Regions from separate parts of the Homo sapiens genome. Here all the other regions are linked to region 1. The links are contacts of gene promoters, found by promoter capture Hi-C in blood cells and fetal thymus (Javierre and others, 2016). All regions are on one chromosome and are shown on one strand. The core of a region is centred on a gene start or on the middle of the fragment in contact, and the rest is flanking DNA. Distances in the headings are between cores, read along the strand shown.

Region 1 (4,119 bases), core at 1,382-3,881:
AACCTTGTAGAACTGGTGTACATTCACTTTCACTATTTGCTCACCTCTCAACTTTTGTTTTCTTTTTCTTTTTTAAGACAGAGTCTTGCTCTGTGGCCCAGGCTGGAGGGCAGTGGCATGATCTTGGCTCACTGCAGCCTCTGCTTCCCGGGTTCAAGCAGTTCTCCTGCCTCAGCCTCCGAGTAGCTGGGATTACAGGCGCACGCCACCACGCCTGGCTAATTTTTGTATTTTTAGTAGAGACAGGGTTTCACCATGTTGGTCAGGCTGGTCTCGAACTCCTGACCTCGTGATCCACCAGCCTCGGCCTCCCAAAGTGCTGGGATTACAGGCGTGAGCCACCGCGCCCGGCCTACTTTTCAATCTGCCACAAATCTGCTGTATCGAGAGCAGAGATTATGTCAGATTCTGGACTCTAGCACCCAGCACAGAAGGTGTTCATCATAGTGCCTTAAATTAAGGAACCCAATGTAGTCTGATTTCTTCACCCATTATTCTGAAACAACACTCACAGATGGTCAAATACATCCTAACTGCACACTGAGGGGAGCAACAGACACTGGGGCCTACCAGAGTGGGGCGGGTAGGAAGAGGGAGGGATCAGGAAAAATAACTAATGGGTGCCACGGCTTAATACCTGGGTGATGAAATGATCTGCACAACAAACCTCCATGACCTGAGTTTACCCATCCAACAAACCTGCACATGTACCCCTTAACTTAAAAAAAAAAAACCCAACTGTAAATTCAATGGCTACTTTAAAATATTAATGTTCTTTGATCTCTCAGTAGCCTGTACTGCCGTTGACTACCTCCCCTTCATTAAAACATTCTCTTCTGTAAGCTTTACTCACACATTTTCCTATTTCTTTTTCAACTTGCGGTTGCTCCTTTTCTGTCGTGCAGGCTTCCTGTCCCCTGACCTCTTGCCTTCCACTCTCCTGAGACGTTCTCCTTCACAACCACGTCTTCAAGTATCATCTATATATATGATATATATATGCTATCTATATGCTGATAGCTCTCAAATCTGTGTCTCCAAGTCAGATTCCTCCCCTGAATTGCAAATCTGCATAACCAACAACACACTCAACATTTCCACCTTGCTGTATTGTCACCTTAACTTTAACATGTCCAAAATAAAATGCCTCATCCTCCAGTTTTCTCCATCTCAGTAAAAACAACCAAGTTCCCAAGCCAGAACCCTGGTCCTCATCTTTGCCCTTACTCACTCCCCACACCAAGTTCCACAATTCTTCGTCCTAAAGACTTCTGGAATTTGATCACTTCTCTTTTTCACTCACCCTAATTCTAGTCCAAGACATCATTACTTCTACGATGAACTAGGCAATTGCCTCCTTTCCACCTGCTCTTCACAAAGCATCCAAGACGATACTGAAAAATGGACAATCTCATTATGTCACTATACAGCTTTAAAACCTTGCTTTTAAAATAAAGACCTTCTTATAGCCTAAATATGCTTGCATGATCTGGCTGATCCTTGGAGACCTCTACAGTCTTATGTCCTGTTCTTTTCCTCTTGTACCCAATGCTCCGACCCACAGAGATCATCTATCCTCCAGCCATATGGAACTCCAGACAATTTCCTGTTCTCTCTGCTCTGTGCCTTGCCCCCTAGCCTTTGGCCATGCAGTCTACTGAGGCTGGAAAGCTCTCTGTAGCCTCTGCCTGTGAAACTCTTATTCTGCAGTCAAGATTCAGCTCAAACTGCGTCCTCTGTGAAAACCCTCTGCCCCCCACAGGCTATGCTTAGCACTCATTACACTGGCTAGCAAAGGCAGCCGCCACCACCAGACATGAGCACTCCACTCCACGTAGCCAGGAGATCTCTAGCCTTCCTCTCATCCACCAACCGTTTCAGCTCACCCCTGGTTGAGGTCGTTCTCCGTGTTGTCCAGCCACAGGCGAACGGCGACTGCGTTGCCCTCCCGGCACTGAGTGAAAATGTCGTCCATAGCAGCGTCCCGGCGCCGAGTCCCCTGGATTGGGGAAGCCTGAGGACTGTGGAGTGATCCAGGGAAGGAGGATGAACCCCAAGCTTTATCCTCTACAGGAGAGAAGTGTTTGTGTTGGGGGTAGGGGGCCTGAGCTGCGTCCCCGGCTAGTGGGGGTCTGTGAAGGAGTTCGGGGCTGCGGGATGATCCCTGGCTGTGTCCTCTAGACGCGAGGTAAAGGCGGGTCAGGGTGGGCAGGGGGTGACGAAGAGGTAGTGTCTGCTGAACGGATGTCCGAGAGCAGGCAACTAGACCCTATCCGCGAACAGAGTTGGGGGAAGTGGGGAGGTTCAGGCTCCGTATACTCTGGGAGAGGGGACCGGGGGTCCTCCCCAGGGTTGGCTCCGTTCCTTACTTGGGACTCAGGAGAAGTGAGGGGTGACAGGGGGCGCGGGTCCTCTCGCACTCACCGGGACTCGGGCTGCAGGATCCTTCTCCGGGGAACTCCCGTCCGGCCGCGCCCGCAGCCCGCCGCCGGCCCCGCCCCGCCCGTGGCGCTCTTGGGCAGCGCGGGCCTCCGTCCCTCCCCTCCCACCGCCTCCCTGCCCTTCTAGCCGCGCCTGGCTAAACTCGATGGTTCGCTGCGCCGCGCCGGCCGCTCTAGCAACCCCTGGCTGTCACGCTTTGGTTTCCGGGTCGGTTCTGGCAGGTCTGAGCGCTCCGACTTCCAGAGGAGCGCTGTGCACGTGGAGAAGAGCGGGGACTCGGCGACCCTGCCCTCCCGACCCTCATGTTCGAAGAGCCTGAGTGGGCCGAGGCGGCCCCAGTAGCCGCGGGCCTTGGGCCCGTAATCTCACGACCTCCGCCTGCGGCCTCCTCGCAAAACAAGGTGAGTGACTCGCGGGAGCAATGGGAGCTGTTTCAGGCCGCGAAGCGGACATTGGTGGATCCCAGCGCTGTGTGTATTGCGGGGAGGGACACCTGTGGCACCGTTAAGGGCGAGTCCTGATCTGAAGATCCGAGAACTTCCAAAAGAAACTGACGTTGGGTCAGAGAGAGTTGTTGAGTAGAAGTTGGTGAAGCGAAGAGGGTTCTTCAGACAGGAAAAAGTACGTACAAGGGCCCTGGGACAAGAGAGCATGTTCTGTCAGAGTCACAAACACAAGTGGTCCTTGTGGTTGAAATACATAGTAAATGAAAGGGGCATATATGCTGTTCAAGTTCAAGAGGTAGAAGTTTTGCGTATATTGAGAATAGAAGCCAATGAAAGGTTTTAAGCAATGGAATTATTTCTTCAGATTTGTATTTTGAAAGGGTCGTCGGTTACAGTGTGGAGGATGGATTGGAGACAGTAAGAGTTGTCAGTATCATTGTTCAAAGGAGGGTGTGGGAAACTTAGAATCAGGGTAAGTGCCTGGCCTAGGATTACCTGGTAGGACTGCAACACAGAATCAGCCTTCCCGACAATACATCTTCTCCTTTGAGCCTCTGCAGATGTGAGGGCCCTGCTTCCTCAGGCTTTTCTTACCCTTCAGTCTGCCTCCAACATGGAATCGGCCTGCTTTGTTTCCTCCTTTTTCATCCCCTAGCCCCATTACCATTGTCCAAGCCGCTGGCCTCTCTGTCTGCAATTTCTCCCCTTCAGTTTGTTTTCTACACTGCAGCTAGAGACATGTTAAATATTTAATATACGTGTGTGATCATGTGTCTCCTGTGTTCAGAAGCCTCCTTACCTCTTACAGAAATGTATCAGCTCTAGGCAAAAGCTCAAGGTGAAGGGTTGGAATTCCTGGTCTCTGGCCTTGGTCTTGTTGCTTGTGGCCTTTGCATTTTCCTTTGGGGAAACCTCCATTAGCTCATTTACACATTGAAGAAAGTGGGATAGGTGGTTTCTCTGCTCTCCAGCTTCCCAGAAGTTGGGGTGGTGACATAAAAGTTCTTCTGGGTTCTGGCAGGCTTGACTGGGAAGAATTCAGATGCTTCTGCCAGTCTGAATCAGGTCCACATCTCTCCCTTCTTGTTCTCCAGGCCTCATCCATTCTCTTTAGGCCCACTGTCATCCCCTGTTTTCCTCCAGGGCTCCAAGCGCCGCCAGCTCTTGGCCACATTACGGGCCCTAGAGGCAGCATCTCTTTCCCAGCATCCCCCCAGCCTATGTATAAGTG
Region 2 (4,854 bases), core at 801-3,300, 52 kb after region 1:
TCTGTTCTATTCCATTAGTCCATATGTATATCCTTATACCAATACCACACTCTCTTCATTACAACAACTGTATAGCAAGTTTTAACATCACTAGTGTAGGTGTCCCAACTTTGTTCTTTTTCAAAGTTGCTTGGCTGCTCTAGATCTTTTGCATTGCTATATAAGTTTCAGAATAAGACTGTCAACTTACCAAAAAAAAATCTGTTAAGATTTAGCTTGGCATTGCATTGAATCTATAGATCATTTGGGGGAGAATGAAGACCTTAATGATACTGACTCTTCTGATCCATGAACATCATATATTTCTCCATTTATTTACATTTCCTCTATCTCAGCAATATTTAGTCATTTTCAGTGTACAGATCTTGAATGCTTTTAATTAAATTTATTCCTAAGTATTTTATGCTTTTAAATGACTTTTAAGTGATATTTTAAAATTTCAATTTCCAATGTTTTGTTACTAGGATATAGAAGTACAAATGATTTCAATGGATTGATTCTGTATCCTGTGACCCTGATGAATTAACTTATTTATTGTAGTAGTTTTTTATGGGGTTTAAAAAAATATTCCTTTGGGGTCTCTATGTAGACAATCATATTACATGCCAATACAGACAGTTTTAACTTGTCTTTTCTAATTTTAAAAGCTTTTATTTCTTTTTCTTAATTGCGTCGATGTGGTCTCCAGTACAGTGTTGAATAGAAGCAGTGAGTATGTTCTTGCCTTTTAACTGATTTTAGGGGGACAGTATTCAATATTTAACCATTAAGTATGTATTTAGCTGTAAGTATAATAGATGCTTTTCATCAAATTGAGAAAGTTATCTTCTATTCCTAGTTTCCTGGGAGTTATGGAATAGTGTTGGAATTTTGTCAAGTGATTTTTATCTACTAATATTACTTACTCATTTGCTCCTTTATTCTGTTAATGTGAGCTACACTGATTGATTTTTCAATGTTTAGTCAGCTTTGCCTTCCCAGGATAGACTCCGTTTGGTCTTAAGATATTATTCTTTTTGTATGTTGCTGAATTTTATTTAATAATATTTCAGTGAGGATTTATTTTTGCATTTAGGTTTATGAAAGATAACAGTTTATTTCTTTGCTTGAAATGTCTTCATCATGGCTTAGTATTCTCCATTTTCTGAAAAAGTATATATAAGTTGTACTTTTTTTCTAAATATTTGATATAATTCAACTGTATAACCATCTGGGACTGGAAACATTTATTATGCATTCAAACTTTTCTTAGGTATGAGGCTGTTCATTTTCTATTATTTTTCTTCTTTTGTTCAAGCTTTGACAAGTTATGTTTTTGTAAGGCATGTGATATGGTTTGGCTCTGTGTCCCCAACCAAATTTTGTCTTGAATTGTAATCCCCATATGTTGAGGGAGGGACCTGGTGGGAGGTGAGTGGATCACGGGGCCGGCTTCCCCCATGCTGTTCTCATGATAGTGAGCAATTTCTCATAAGTTCTGATGGTACATCTCTTCACCCCACCCCGCCCCCGCCAACTGCTATGTAAGATGTGCCTTGCCTCCCCTTCGCCTTTTGCCACGACTTTAAGTTTCCTGAGGGCTCCCCATCCATGCGGAACTGTGAGTCAATTAAACCTACTTATATATATATATTTTTTGGGACGAAGTTTTGCTCTTGTCACCCAGGCTGGAGTGCAATGGCGTGATCCTGGCTCGTTGCAACCTCTGCCTCCCAGGTTCAAGCGATTCTCCTGCCTCAGCCTCCCAAGTAGTTGGGATTACAGGTGACCCCCACCACACCCAGCTAATTTTTGTATTTTTAGTAGAGATGGGGTTTCACCATGTTGGCCAGGCTGGTCTCAAACTCCTGACCTCAAGGGATCAACCTGCCTCAGCCTCCCAAAGTGCTGGGATTACAGGCGTGAGCCACCATGCCTGGCCTAACCCTCTTTTCTTTATGAATTACCCAGTCTCAAGTAGTTCTTTATTGCAGTGTGAAAACAGACTAATACAGCATGTATCCATTTCACCTAAGTTGCTAAATTTATTAGCATAAAGTTTTTCATAATTTTCCCTTATTATCCATTTTTTAAAACTTTTTTTTTTAAATGAGGGTCCCACTATGCTGCCCAGGCTGGTCTTGAACTCCTGGCCTTAAGAAATCCTCCTGCCTAAGCCTCCCTCCCTAGTAGCTGGGATTACAGGTGCATGCCACCATGCCTGGCTCCCCTTTTTTTTTTTGGAGACGGAGTCTCGCTCTGTCACCAGGCTGGAGTGCAGTGGTGCAAATCTCAGCTCACCGCAACTTCCACCTCCCTGGTTCAAGCAATTCTCCTGCCTCAGCCTCCCGAGTAGCTGTGATTACAGGTACATGCCACCATGCCCAGCTAATTTTTGCATTTTTAGTAGAGACGGGGTTTCACCATGTTGGCCAGGATGGTCTCCATCTCCTGACCTCGTGATCTGCCCTCCTTGGCCTCCCAAAGTGCCGGGATTACAGGCGTGAGCCACAGTGCCCGGCCCTGGCTCCCTTTTTATCCTTTTAAATATCTTTAATAAAACCTCTTTCATTCCTGATATTCAAAATTTATGTTTTCCTTTTCATTTCTTGATTTGTGTTAATAGGCGATTGTCAATTTTATCTTTTTCAAAGAAACAAAATATGGCTTTGTTGATATTCTCCATTGTTTGTATGTTTTTCTATTTCACTGATTTCTGCTCTGTTCTTTATTATTGATTTCCTTTTAATTGCTTTGGGTATAACTTGCTCTTCTTTTTCTAGAGTCTTAAGCTGAAAATTTAGGTCATTGATTCCAAGCTTTTCTCTCTAAGATAGATATTTAAAGCTATAACCTTTAGTTGCATCTCACAAATTTTGATATGTTTTGTTTTCATTATTATTTAGTTCAAAACATTCTCTAATTTCTCTTGTAATTTCTTTTTTGGTACATTATTTAGAAGTGTGTTAATTTTAAAGAATTTGGAAATTCTCTAGGCATCTTATCAATATTTGTATTGTTATGGTCAGATAAAATATTATTTAAAATGTTAATCCTTTGAAATTTGTTGAGACTTATTTTGTAACCCAGCATATGGTCTATCTTGGTGAATGTTTCATGTGCATTTGAAAAGAAGGTGCATTTTGCAGTTGGTGAGTATAATGTTTTGTAAATGTCAGTGTGTTGCTAGTGTTATTCAGATCTTTAATGTCCCTACTTTCTTGCTCCTTGTCTTATCAGTTATTGTGAGAGGCATATTAATTTCTTAATATGATTTCAGATTTACTATGTCTCTTTTGTTTCTATTGGCTTTTTTTCCCTATACTTAAATGTCTATTTTAGGTGTGGACACATTTAAGACTTTTGTCTTTCTGATGAGTTGAATCTTTCAATTATGAGATGTCCTTTTCTATCTCTGGTAATATCCTTTGTCTTAAAGTGCTTTGGTATTAATATTGCCACATCAACTTCCTTATGCAAACTATTTCTGTAGTAAATATTTTGCATTAAAAACTTCTTTTAATCTATCTGTGTTTTTATATTTAAAGTGCATCTTTTGGACAGCGTACAGCTATATAGATCTCAGGGTCAGTTTCTATTCTATTGCTTGCTTCTTCTTGACAGCAGGTCACATTATTTTCTGGGGGTTTTTGTTGGCATGTCTATTTATTTTTTATTTTATACTGGATGTTCTGGTGGTTGTCACTCAAGGACACCTTTTACATTCTGCCAGCAGTAATATTCTTCACTCTACAATGTTGCTGAAGTCTCTTCTCAGCTGAAATCTCTTCATATATCTGACTGTACCACTCTTTACTCCTTCTATTGTCTCTAATTTTGTGCAAATTCATTGCAAAGACCAAATAATATAGCTGGAAGGAACTACAGGTTTTGGAACCAAATAGACTTGAATTTTAATCTTGGTTCTGACACTTCATAGCTAGGGTATCTTGGGCAAGTTCTAAAATCTCTGTCTCTGTTTCTTCATCTTTAAAATAATTGCAAAAATTCCCCATCTTACTTGGCTTTTATGAGCACTGAAGATGACATAGACATATCATAGAGCACATAGTAGATATTCAATAAATTGTACTGGCTATTATTAAGTACGAATACATCTGGTTCAAGTTTTCTACATCTCATAAGAGACTTCGCTGTTTAACTGGATAGCCTATCCAGTGCTTCAGCCCATTGACTTCCTTGACTCCAACAACCTCTACCTAAAATTCACTTCCCAATCCCATGGCCATATTTAGAAACTCTCATCATCTAGAGGCATACCACTTTAGAAACTTTACACTTCAATATCCCAAATTTTTATCAAGATTTTTCTCCTTTCCTTTGTTATCTTGTCTTCTACAAACTTTTATTGAGCACTTACTTCCTGTTGGGTCTACCAAAATGAATGAGACAAATTTCTGTTCTCTGTTCTCATAAATCTCCAAGTGTGGTGAAAGGGACAGATAGGCAAGCATACAATAATAAAATCATGGTTATCACAGATTATTGTACAGAGCACAGGATGGATATCTAACCGAGCCTATGGATCAGGCTTCCTGGAGAAGCTACTGCCTTAGGTAATTTAGAAATAATAAGTAGAATTTAGCCACATAGAGAAGGCAGAGAGGACAGCAATCCCAGGGTCTAGAGGAAGCCTGACTTGTTAAGTCCAATTAGAGAGAGTGTAAGAGGACACAGAAGAAAGCCTCATCACAGAAAGCTTTGTAAGAGCATTTGTCAGATTTCCAAGTAAAGATCATCTGAACCATGGAAATAAGTGGAAAGATTCAAGAAATATGAAGGAGGTAGGATTGAAAAGACATGGTGACTGGATATTGGTGAAGGAGAATGAGATGTCAACAAGATTTCTGGCTT
Region 3 (4,854 bases), core at 564-3,063, 35 kb before region 1:
GTGGTGTCTGAGAGCCTGGCCCCTGGCAGTCCTGTCTTGCAGGTGTTCGCATCTGATGCCGATGCTGGTGTCAATGGGGCTGTGACTTACGAGATCAACCGGAGGCAGAGCGAGGGTGATGGACCCTTCTCCATCGACGCACACACGGGGCTGCTGCAGTTAGAGCGGCCACTGGACTTTGAGCAGCGGCGGGTCCATGAACTGGTGGTGCAAGCACGAGATGGTGGGGCTCACCCTGAGCTGGGCTCGGCCTTTGTGACTGTGCATGTGCGAGATGCCAATGACAATCAGCCCTCCATGACTGTCATCTTTCTCAGTGCAGATGGCTCCCCCCAAGTGTCTGAGGCCGCCCCACCTGGACAGCTCGTTGCTCGCATCTCTGTGTCAGACCCAGATGATGGTGACTTTGCCCATGTCAATGTGTCCCTGGAAGGTGGAGAGGGCCACTTTGCCCTAAGCACCCAAGACAGCGTCATCTATCTGGTGTGTGTGGCTCGGCGGCTGGATCGAGAGGAGAGGGATGCCTATAACTTGAGGGTTACAGCCACAGACTCAGGCTCACCTCCACTGCGGGCTGAGGCTGCCTTTGTGCTGCACGTCACTGATGTCAACGACAATGCACCTGCCTTTGACCGCCAGCTCTACCGACCTGAGCCCCTGCCTGAGGTTGCGCTGCCTGGCAGCTTTGTAGTGCGGGTGACTGCTCGGGATCCTGACCAAGGCACCAATGGTCAGGTCACTTATAGCCTAGCCCCTGGCGCCCACACCCACTGGTTCTCCATTGACCCCACCTCAGGCATTATCACTACGGCTGCCTCACTGGACTATGAGTTGGAACCTCAGCCACAGCTGATTGTGGTGGCCACAGATGGTGGCCTGCCCCCTCTAGCCTCCTCTGCCACAGTTAGCGTGGCCCTGCAAGATGTGAATGATAATGAGCCCCAATTCCAGAGGACTTTCTACAATGCCTCACTGCCTGAGGGCACCCAGCCTGGAACTTGCTTCCTGCAGGTGGGTAGGCCTGGCACATAGCAAGATAGTGTTGGGGGAATCTGAGAGCCACAGGGGACCTCAGAGCAGGAACCAAGCCTTACAAGGTCATCTGTTGATGGTGACTTATGCTAGAGGGTTCTGCCCTATGTTGTAAGCTCCAAAATCTGTGCAGAGGATGAGGGTTAATGAGAAGATGAGAAAGCAGGGTGCAAGAGCTGAGGCAGATGGTCTTGGCAGGTGAGGAAATTAAGATTGGATCTAGTGGAGAAATGATTTGTGGTGTCAGGAAATGAAAGCCTCAAAGCTGTTCTGCAGGGCAGAGATGGAGATTCTACATACGTATGTGGCTTCTGTTCCCCAAAGAAGACACCAGAATTTATGGGGCCCTCCATTGCTTGTCAAGTGCTGGGTTGTGCTGGAAGAAATCCTCATCCCTGCCCTCAGAGCTGAGCCTTAATAGGCCATTTGGTCTCAGACATGAGAATGAGAGATAGCAAGAATTATCTCAATATCCAGAGCAGGAAGGCCTCTCAGGGGAAGAGGCAGGAACCCTGGACAGGCTGAGAAAGACACATACTGGCTGCAAGTCAGTCCTGGAGAAATGGAGGGAACATGAAACTGGAAAGGCACTCTGAGGCCAGGTTGCAGAAGTCCTTGAACACAAAGCAGTAGTTAGGACTACTTGGGAAGCAAAGGAGCTCACTGAACTTCTTTTTTTTTTTTTTGAGGCGGAGTCTCGCTCTGTTGCCCAGGCTGGAGTGCGGTGGCATGATCTGGGCTCACTGCAAGTCTGCCTCCTGGGTTCACGCCATTCTCCTGCCTCAGCCTCCCAAGTAGCTGGGACTACAGGCACCTCCACCACACCCAGCTAATTTTTTGTATTTTTAATAGAGACGGGGTTTCACTGTGTTAGCCAGGATGGTCTTGATCTGCCCTCGAGGAGATCACTGAATTTCTTTGAGCTGGGAAGTGAATGATCAGGTTGGGTTTTATTAAGTTAGCTATCTGGCTTTAAGGGTGATTGGATCAGCAGGTGTGTGACAGATCGTTCCTTGATTCATATGTTCAAGATTTTATTTAACTACTGTAAGCCTAGCACTGTGCTAGGCCCAGAGAACAAAGAAAAGAGACAATCCTGTTCCCAGGGTGGTCACAGTCTAGATAGGGAGACACATCAGCAACTAGTGCTGCAGCAGGTGGCGTATGAGTGCTGTGGAAGCCCAGAGGAGGGGCCTTGAAGAACTAATGAAACTTTGCCAAATGGATAATATGAGGTGTGCAGATGGAGACTCCAGGCCTAAGGAAAGAGCTGCTGAACAAATACCAGGACGTGTTCAGGAGACTGTATTGTTCAGGCTGGCATCAGCTGTACTAATGAGAAAGAGTCGGGGGAGATGAGAAAAGACAGTAGACAGGAGCCAGGTCACAAATTCAACTTTATCTTGAAAATCATAGGGAGCAAGTGAAGGACTCTAAGCAAATCTGATATGTCTTTAAGAAAGATTGCTTTGGCTGCACTGTGGAGAATGGCAGCAGGAGAGAGGACAGTGGGCAGGGAGTCCTCTTAGGAGGCTGGTGCTTAGTGTCCTTATGTCTCCAAACTCCACCAGACTCTTGAACATCTCCTCAGGGCATAGACTTCCAGGCTAGCTCTGGGCCTGGCTGACCTCTTGTCCTCTGGCCAGACTCTGCATATTTGCTCGCCTGCTGCTGTGCAGCTCCACCACCCACTCTTCCACGTGTTTACTCTCCTTCTTGTCCAGGACCAATGGGCTATGGCTTCCAGACTTCTCTCCTCACTAGTGCCTGAAGCAAGAGGGCAACTCTCCAGGTGGTTTCCTGGAGTTTTTACTATTAGTAACCATAGAGAATCGGGGTAAAAATGACCATTTGGGGTTTACAACTGTCACAAGAAGTCTTAATGTTTGATTTATTCAATATACATGTATTGAATGTCTACCATGTGCTAGTCACTGTATTAGAGACACGGAATACAGTCATGAATGCGTCACTCCCCTCATCTTAAGGAGTTTATAGAGGGGAGATTCATGTGCAAAGAAATAGTTTCATTCCAATAAGAACATTTCCATTTGGGGATATATATGAGGTACAGATAGGCAGTATGAGTGCTTTCCTGAAGGAAGGGATCCCTGAGTTGAGACTTAAAGAATGAGCAATTTATGAGAGTATCAGATGGGGGAAGGCTTCCAAGCAGAGGTGAGGTGCACAGAGGTGTGGGAGGGCCCAGTTTGTTCAAGGGCCTACTAGGGGCTCAGGATCTCTGGAGTTAAGACTGGAGATGGGAAGGTGGGAGATGAGACTGCAGGGAGGCTCAGCCAAGTCAGAGGGTTTGAGCTTTTTTCTATAGCAATATTATCAGATTTGTTTATGCAAATGGTAGTCAATGTAGAGCAGTGGTTCATAACCAGGGGTGACTTTGCCCCCCAGAAGGGATATTAGCAATATCTAGAGAAATTTCTGATTGTCACAATGGGTGGGAGACTATTGGCATCTAGTGGGTAGAGGCTGAGAATGCTGCTAACCATCCTGCAAGGCACTTAGCAGCTCCCATAATAAAGCATTATCTGGTCCAAAATGTCAGTAGTGCCAATTTGAGAAACCCTGGTGGAGAGTACAGATCAGAGGGTCAGACCTCTATGAGAAGGTAATCAAAATAATGCAGGGGAGCAATAACTCAGGACAGCTCAGGCCTAAGTCAGAATGGTGATAATGGTGATGGAAAGGAACAGACAAATAGAGTTAATGAGGACTTACTTAATCCCTGGTTGATTGATATACCAGGTGAGAAAAGGGAAGAACTGATTTCTGGCTTTAGCAACTGTGTGGATGGAAGAGTCATTAGAGCAGGTTTGGAATGATCATGAGTTTAGTTTTGGGCTGGTCGGATTTAGGGTGCCTGTGGGACATCCAGGTGGAGGTGCTGAGCAGCCATCTGGATGTAAAAGTTGGGAAATCTCAGAGGAGTGGTCTAGAGTGAAAGTATAGACGATGGCTGAAGTAAAAGGCAAGGCCCTGAGAGAATGTGTGGAGTGAGAAGAGGCCAAGGAGAGATTCCAGGGAACAGTGTGTAAGAACAGGCAGATAAGGGGAGATGGAGGAAGACTGGCAGTGGGTGGTGGGGGAAGCAGTGGGTGGAGAAGCAGGAAAAGTAGCATCAAGAAGTCATAGCAGGAGAGATGGGCATGGTGATGCATCCCTGTAATCCAAGCTACTCGGGAGGCTGAGGCAGGAGGATTACTTGAGCCCAAGAGTTCCAAACCAGCCTGGACAACATAGTGAGAGCCTGTCTTAAAAAATAAATAAAGGCCAGGCACAGTGGTTCACGCCTGTAATCTCGGCACTTTGGGAGGCCAAGGTGGAAGGACTGGTTGAGGCCAGGAGTTTGAGACCAGCCTGGGCAACATAGTGAAACACTGTCTATGCAAAAAATAAAAAAACTAGCCAGGCATGGTGGTGCACGCCTGTAGTCCTAGTTGTTCCGGAGGCTAAGGCAGGAGGATTGCTTGAGCCCAGGAGTTCGAAGTTGCAGTGAGCTAGGATCACACCACTGCACCCCAGACTGGGCAACAGAGAGCCTGTCTCAAAAATAAATTAAATAAATAAATAATTTATGTTTTGAAAAGTCAAAGCAGGAGGTACACCTGGAAAAGAGGTTGGGATAGGCATATGGAGTAAGTTTCGAGGCTAGTAAGAAGTTTAGAGAGTTCACAGATAAGTGTCTTTCTTTTCTCCTTGAAATAGTGCATCTGATGAGAGCAAGGGATGGGATGGGGGCAAGAGAAGAGGGATGAAGTTTATTATGGCTTTGGGGCAGAATGGGAGAGGGAGCCGACCAAGGTC

The links. Contacts are between HindIII fragments. The CHiCAGO score rates a contact against its expected background, and 5 or more counts as called.
Region 2: a contact is called between a fragment that was not itself captured here and the fragment with the promoter of RRP8 in region 1, in 1 of 17 cell types (erythroblasts). The highest score is 6.0, in erythroblasts.
Region 3: a fragment that was not itself captured here is called in contact with the fragment with the promoter of RRP8 in region 1 in 5 of 17 cell types (activated CD4 T cells, non-activated CD4 T cells, total CD8 T cells and 2 more); the score reaches 5.8 in activated CD4 T cells.

Annotation. Positions count from the first base shown.
Region 1 is chr11:6,602,128-6,606,246 of GRCh38, reverse strand. It overlaps RRP8 (ribosomal RNA processing 8), which reads left to right and starts at 2,631. Exons shown (of 7, transcript NM_015324.4): 1 at 2,631-2,843; 2 at 4,032-4,119. The coding sequence starts at 2,745. ILK (integrin linked kinase) reads right to left here and starts at 2,473. Exons shown (of 13, transcript NM_004517.4): 1 at 2,425-2,473; 2 at 1,887-2,067. The coding sequence starts at 1,975. RefSeq lists enhancers at 1-139, 1,452-1,611, 1,842-2,081, 2,672-2,861, 2,857-3,398 and a silencer at 2,392-2,601. The HindIII fragment of the contact is 3,835 bases long and covers 2,061-4,119 here.
Region 2 is chr11:6,549,309-6,554,162 of GRCh38, reverse strand. The region is part of intron 24 of DNHD1 (dynein heavy chain domain 1); the gene reads right to left. Among named protein-coding and RNA genes, the nearest start is that of RRP8, 52 kb to the left of the region's middle. The HindIII fragment of the contact is 1,501 bases long and covers 1,300-2,800 here.
Region 3 is chr11:6,635,974-6,640,827 of GRCh38, reverse strand. It overlaps DCHS1 (dachsous cadherin-related 1), which reads left to right. Exons shown (of 21, transcript NM_003737.4): 2 at 1-1,011. Among named protein-coding and RNA genes, the nearest start is that of DCHS1, 17 kb to the left of the region's middle. The HindIII fragment of the contact is 8,749 bases long and covers 1-4,854 here.